2 separate regions of the Homo sapiens genome follow, and region 2 is linked to region 1. Evidence: promoter capture Hi-C in 16 types of primary human blood cells and fetal thymus (Javierre and others, 2016). All regions are on one chromosome and are shown on one strand. Each heading gives the region's core, a stretch centred on a gene start or on the middle of the fragment in contact. The rest is flanking DNA. Distances are from core to core; before and after follow the strand shown.

Region 1 (3,655 bases), core at 1,156-3,655:
TGCCTTGAGCCTCATCCACAGCGCCTGGCAGCGGAGCGACAGTCTCTGCCGCGGCCGAGCCTCCCGAGACCCCTGGTGCTGAGGCAGAGCTGGTTGGCGTCCCTGGTGGGCAGGAAAGGAAGGCACGCCAGCCGGCAGGCACACTGTCACGGCTGTTGTCATGCTGTCGGGAGCCTACAGTCCACCCCTGCCCTGGGCGGCAGAACCACCGAGTGTGGCTTAAGACAGGGTCCCTCCACTCCAGGGATCCAGATCAGGTGCCCGGCACCCCTGGGCATCCTGCCCGACAGGTAGCGAATGGAGGTCGCTGGGGGCAGAGGGTCCGAGCCCTGTGGGCTCTGCGGATGCACGCCCTCCTCCCGGGCCTCCGCCTCAGTCTGCAGAATTTCTGCCGAGTGGCACCGAGAACACCATCCATCTAAGGACGAACAAAAGAACCAGGAGGGCGGGACCCCCCTCTTCCTCTCCTGGGTTGGGGGCTGGGGCCCTGAGTGCCCAGCCATCCTTGTTCGTGTTTGAACACTCTCCTGGCCACGTGGGGAAGCGGGAACACGGGGTGTCTGCGCATGTTTCCTCCTCCTAGCTCCATCACTGCGCACACAGCTGCCTGCCTCGCCAGATGCAGGGGGGCGGGCAGCCCTCCCTGGCTGCCAGGAGGCTCTGCATGCCCACAGTCCTGCCCTGCCTGTCCCCTCAACCCGGCAGTGCCTGTAGCACCGAGGAGCAAAGGGGGTGGATGGGGGGCTTGGAGAAGGGCGGAGCCCACCAGCCTGGCATCCATGTTGACATCTTCTGACTGTCCCCTGCTTGGCTGGAGCCAGGCCCTTCCCTAGAGTTTCGTCAAGAGCCTCCTGGGGAAGGGGTCAGGTGGTTTGGGTTTTGTTTTTTAAAATAAAATAGACATGTTATATTGCCAAGGCTTGTCACTGGCCCTTTTTGAGCAGGGTAGGGGAAGGGAGCTCTCCAAATCCCTTGGGCCCTTTTCTGCAAACCTTCCTCCATCATCTGCCCTGTGCCTGACACAAGGGACACACGGGACATGCAGAACCAGATCAGCCACCGCTGCCGGGCGGACTCACCGTCTGCAGACCCTCAGGCCCTGGGAGTTTCTCGGCCCGACCTTTGCCCTCCGTCCTGTTCCTGTTTGCTGCAGCAGCCAGGGGAGGAGCAGCCACCAGCTCAAGCCCCAGGGCACGTCTGCACCGCCGCCCACCATCTGCAGCCCACCCCGGGGCAGGACGCTCCTGCCTCCACAGCCCCGGGGGTGAGTGCCCAAACCCAGGAGAATCCAAGCTGTCCTCGCTGCCTCTTGCTGCGCCGTCCCCTCCAGGGCTGGCCAGAGGGTGACAACCCTGCCAGGCCGGGAGCCTGAGGCCCTCAAGCCACTCAGCATTGCTGCCTCAAGGGCCTGGGAGGGAAGGGGTGGGCCCTGGGAGGTGGGTGTGGGACTCCAACTTGGGTGGTTCTGCCTCTAGTTTGGACTGGGCCTTGGGTGACTGAGGGTGGCCTGGCAGGAGAGAGCTGTCTGGGGGCAGAGGCCAAGGTGGGCATGTTGGTACCGGCCCCAGCCTGAGCAGACACACCTGACAGCTGGCCCAGGTGGCGTTCTCTTCTCAGCGGGCACAAAGGGCATCCCAGGGCAGGCCTGGCAGCAAGTCCTTACCAGCCAAGGTCACTCCTCAAGTCCTACTCACCCAGGTGCCCTGAAGTCCTGGGAGCAGCGAGGGGGGCATAGGAGCCAGAGGCAGTGGGGGTGGGGGCGAGCAGGCGATGCGGGTGCCTTTATCGGGTGCAGCACTGACCTAGGCACACTCTTCTCATCGCCAGTCCTCCACAGAACCTTCTGGAGTGGATGTCAGTATCTCCATTTTACAAATGAGAGAAACTGAAGCTCTGAGAGGAAGTGACTTGCCCAGGGGTCACACATGAGAGCCACACCTGGGATTCCAATCAGCTCCCCAGGGCTCCAGAGCCCTTCTCTACTTCTGACCCTGCTGAGCATGGGCCTATAGACGGTGGGAGCCAGACTGAAGACTTGAGTCCTGGAAAGGGGAAGTCAGTCACCAGGGGCATATCAGGGGCAGGGTGGGGCAGGGGCGGAGTTGGCCGTGTACCCCATGCCAGGGACCTCCCAGTCACTTGCCCCCTGCCTAGGGCTCTGCCAAAGCTGGACAGGCTAAGCCAGAGGCAAGGCAGGGGTGCCAGCCCTTTGCCCAGGGCCAGAGGGAGGCCAGGAGGAGGTGCCTGGGCTGGTTGGCACCTTCTCCCTATCCACGCTCTCCCTCCAGTCCCAAGTGACCTTTCCCCCAGATCCCAGGGTCCAGGCCCGCCCTCGGCTGGCAGGTGTGGGCACAGAGGCAGCTGGGATTGGTCGCAGCTGGCGGAGGCGCGTCCCAGGCTCCGGCAGACCGCTGGAACAGCTGAGCAGAGCAGGTGGACTGCTGAGATAGACCAGGGACACCAGGCAGCCACAGGCCTGTCAGACCAGGACCCTTACCCTCTAGACATGGCCTCGGTCCCCTGCAAACCCCAGCCCCGTAGCCCTGCGAGGTTACAGACAGCCTAAACGCCACCACCACAGGGCCTGTGCCGTGCCCCTGACCCGGGCACAGAAGGCCACTGGCCCGGAGGCCATGGAGACGGTGCCCCCAGCAGTGGACCTGGTGCTGGGTGCTTCTGCCTGCTGCCTGGCCTGTGTCTTCACCAACCCCCTGGAGGTGGTGAAGACGCGGCTGCAGCTGCAGGGGGAGCTGCAGGCCCGGGGCACCTACCCACGGCCCTACCATGGCTTCATAGCCTCTGTCGCTGCTGTGGCCCGAGCAGACGGGCTGTGGGGCCTGCAGAAGGGGCTGGCTGCCGGCCTTCTGTACCAAGGCCTCATGAATGGCGTTCGTTTCTACTGCTACAGCCTGGCGTGCCAGGCTGGCCTCACGCAGCAACCAGGTGGCACCGTGGTTGCGGGAGCCGTGGCGGGGGCACTGGGAGCCTTCGTGGGGAGCCCTGCTTACCTGGTGAGTGGCTTGTCTCCATCGTCCACCCTCCACCATCCCATGACCCAGCTCCCACAGGGGCCCTGCAGCCTCCAAAGGCAGGGCTCAGTGGACCTGGGTGGGGTGGGGCAGCCGGGGTGGGGCTGCTCCCTGGAACATCCTAGCCCAAGCCTGGAATCTGCCCCTTGGCCCAGGGCCTTGCTCTGATCCATGCTCCCCTGCGGTCCCTGCCCCACTGGTCCTGAGCCAGGGGAGGGGGCAGAGGGTGTCAGATGTGCTGGCTCAAATCCTGGCTTGGTTACTTCTCTTCCCGCATGGCCTCATGTACGATAAGAATAAAAGCTACCCTTGAGGGCCTCCGCCTCGTGTGCACTCTGCAGGGGGGCCTCAGGGCCACCCAAAACAAATAAAAAATTAAAAAATGTTTTGAAGAAAGCTACCCTTGGCTGGGTGCAGTGGCTCACGCCTGTAATCCCAGCACTTTGGGAGGCCGAGGCGGGCAGATCACCTGAGGTCAGGAGTTTGAGACCAGCATGGTCAACATGGTGAAACCCTGTCTCTGCTAAAAAGTACAAAAATTAGCTGGGCGTGGTGATGCATGCCTGTAATCCCAGCTACCGGGGAGGCTGAGGCAGGAGAATCACTTGAGCCCAGTTGGCAGAGCT
Region 2 (3,261 bases), core at 28-2,527, 170 kb before region 1:
AGTCCCAACTACTCAGCAGGCTGAGGCACGAGAATTGCTTGAACCTGGGAGGCAGAGGTTGCAGTGAGCCAAGATCGCACCATTGCACTCCAGCCTGGGAGACAAGGGCGAAACTCTGTCTCAAAAAACAAACAACTGGGCCAAGTGTGGTGGCTCACAGCTGTAATCCCAGCACTTTGGGAGGCCAAGGCAGGCAGATCACGAGGTCAGGAGATCGAGACCATCCTGGCTAGCATGGTGAAACCCCATCTCTACTAAAAAAAAAAAAAAAAAAAAAAAAAAATACCAAAAATTAGCCAGGCATGGTGGCAGGTGCCTCTAGTCCCAGCCACTTGGGAAGGCTGAGCCAGGAGAATGGCGTGAACCCGGGAGGCGGAGCTTGCAGTGAGCCAAGATCACGCCACTGCACTCCAGCCTGGGCGACAAAGCAAGACTCCGTCAAAAAAAAAAAAAAAAGCAAACAACTGTAACTTAACCATGCTTTTGAAACTTCTGATGTTTTTTCTCTACTTTTCTTCCAGGTGTCTATTTTAGAAAGGCGCAACACAGCAGGAAGGGTGGTGTATAAAACCCTGGAAGACCCTTGGATTGGGAGTGAGAGTGACAAATTTATCCTCTTGGGCTATCTCGACCAGCTGCGTAAAGATCCAGCTCTTCTGTCCTCTGAAGCAGTGCTTCCTGACCTGACCGATGAACTTGCCCCTGTGAGCATCGGGGCTGGGAAGGGTGGGACACCAGGAGGGCTTGTGAGTACACAGTGCTGGTGGCGGATTTCTGCTCAGAGCAGAGGTCCAGCAGCAGCACTGTGTTGCAGGGTAGAGGGACTCTCCCTTCCGGCTTTAGTCCTGACCATCATCCATTTTCTCTCTACATAGGTTTTTCTCCTTCGATGGTTCTACTCTGCTTCTGACTACATCTCAGACTGCTGGGATAGCATTTTTCACAACAACTGGTAGGGATATTGCCAGGCTGAATTTCTTTTTCTCTGTTAATACTGATATCACTGTTTTTCTTTTGAAAAGAGTTCATCATTATTAAATTTCAAGGTACACTTGATGGGGCAAGTGGAAGAACGTTTACACATTTTCTATTCCCCTTTTTCTTTCTTTCAGTAACTTCCCTTTTTTTTATTTTTTACTTTTTTTTTTTTTGAGACAAAGTCTTGCTCTTGTCCCCCAGGCTCAATCTGGGGATCACTGCAACCTCCGCCTCCCAGGTTCAAGCAATTCTCCTGCCTCAGCCTCCTGAGTAGCTGGGATTACAGGCACCTGTCACCATGCCTGGCTAATTTTTGTATTTTTAGTAGAGATAGGGTTTCACCATGTTGGTCAGGCTGGTCTCAAACTCCTGACCTCAGGTGATCCACCCGCCTCGGCCTCCCAAAGTGCTGGGCTTACAGGTGTGAACCACTGCTCCCGGACATTTTTTATTTTTTATTTTTTTTTGAGACAGAGTCTCACTCTGTCACTCAGACTGGAATGCAGTGGCACGATCTCAGCTCACTGCAACCTCTGCCTCCCAGGTTCAAGCGATTCTCCTGTCTCAGCCTCCCGAGAAGCTGAGATTACAGGCACCCACCACCATGCCCAGCTAATTTTTGTATGTTTAGTAGAGACAGTGTTTCACCATGTTGGTAAGGCTGGTCTCGAACTCCTGACCTCAGGTGATCCACCCACCTCAGCCTCCCAAAGTGCTGGGATTACAGGCGTGTGCCACCATGCCCGGCCACTTCCCTTTTTTTATATTGGCTGACTGACCCTTTCCCACTGGCTAGGAAAGGATCACCCATGGCTGCCATTCTGGGCAGCAGAGCCTGGGACTGTCTCTTCATCAGGGAACCTCTGGTGCCCAGCACAGGGCCTGACACACGTGGAGTCCAGTGTATAGATGTAAAAGGAATGAGTGAATTAACCTCAAGAGGGATACCCACTCCCACCTACTGATGAGACCATGAGCCCCTGAAGGACAGAACCACATCTCATTCGTGTTTGTGATTCCTGGCACCCAACACAGCACCTGACAAATGACAGCCTTTGATGGGTGTTGGTAGGTACATAAAATTTCAGAACACCAGTCCTAGATGAAATCTTGAAAGATCAATTTTATCTCCCTACTCCACCCCTCTGGGCTACATCTGAATTTTTCTGGCCAGAAAAAAATCAGTAAAGTTGAGGAAATAATTCCACAATGTCAGAAAATTCTTCCATGTTTACACCTTAAGTCCTTTATTATCCCTTTTATTGTTTCCTCATGCAGAACTTATTGAGCATAGCCTATTATACTGAGATACAAAATCAAACTTTTAGAATAAGCTGTCTGTGAATTAGAACACTGAGCAATCTCTACCTTCCCCTCCACCACCTCCACCCGCCAAGAAAAGCTCTGTTTGCCTGAAATTAGTAAGCGTTTATTGGTGTGAAGAGTTTTTGGTTTGGGATTTTTATTTTATCTTTTTTTAGCTGGAGAGAAGAAATTTTAACTTGAGCTAATAGTTTGTTAATTTGGTTTTAGGAGGGAAATGATGCCCCTGCTGTCCCTGATCTTCTCTGCCCTCTTCATCCTCTTCGGCACTGTCATCGTTCAGGCTTTCAGGTAAATGTCCTGTGGCTTCTCGGTGCACCACCATGGTTGGTGTTGACACTTTTTTTGTAAAACTCCTTTTTTCTTACTTTAGCGACTCTAATGATGAGCGAGAGTCAAGCCCTCCAGAAAAAGAGGAAGCCCAAGAGAAGACTGGGAAAACTGAGCCAAGCTTCACCAAAGAAAACAGCAGGTTTCTCTAACAAAACACCAGACTCACCTCCCCGGCACCTGCCCCCCAGATCCTGTCATCTGATAACGCAGCATTGGAACATAGAGTGTAGAGAAGAACTCTCATGCACCTCCTCCCATGTAAACTGTGGCTACAGGGAAAAGTCACTGTGATTTGTGTTTACTAAGACCCTGTAGGTGTTTAGATGCCTTAGATTTCATAATGAAGGCAGAAGGAAAGAAGCCTATCAGGCAAGTGTTAGGTGAGCCAGAAGCAGGACGTGGTTTATCCCTGTAAATGTCAATGAACGTAACCAGTCTTGTGCGCACACACACCCAGCAGCAAGAGGCCAGGGTCTCCGAGACAAAGAACATAGACTGAATGATAGTTGTCTTCTTCATTCTGTCCTAGAGCAACTTCTGCACCTGAAAAGCAGCATCAAGCAGGGCACAGTGGCTCACGCCTGTAATCCCAAGACTTTTAGGAGGCCTAGGTGGGAGGATTGCTTG

Evidence for each region. Contacts are between HindIII fragments. The CHiCAGO score rates a contact against its expected background, and 5 or more counts as called.
Region 2: a contact is called between a fragment that was not itself captured here and the fragment with the promoter of SLC25A34 in region 1, in 1 of 17 cell types (endothelial precursors). The highest score is 6.7, in endothelial precursors.

What each region holds. Positions count from the first base shown.
Region 1 is chr1:15,733,853-15,737,507 of GRCh38, forward strand. SLC25A34 (solute carrier family 25 member 34) reads left to right here and starts at 2,406. Exons shown (of 5, transcript NM_207348.3): 1 at 2,406-3,011. The coding sequence starts at 2,634. PLEKHM2 (pleckstrin homology and RUN domain containing M2) reads left to right here. Exons shown (of 20, transcript NM_015164.4): 20 at 1-917. The coding sequence ends at 82. RefSeq lists enhancers at 740-1,505, 1,506-2,272. The HindIII fragment of the contact is 4,526 bases long and covers 1-3,655 here.
Region 2 is chr1:15,563,408-15,566,668 of GRCh38, forward strand. It overlaps DNAJC16 (DnaJ heat shock protein family (Hsp40) member C16), which reads left to right. Exons shown (of 15, transcript NM_015291.4): 10 at 522-704; 11 at 876-952; 12 at 2,512-2,592; 13 at 2,675-2,773. Among named protein-coding and RNA genes, the nearest start is that of AGMAT, 20 kb to the right of the region's middle. The HindIII fragment of the contact is 2,945 bases long and covers 1-2,750 here.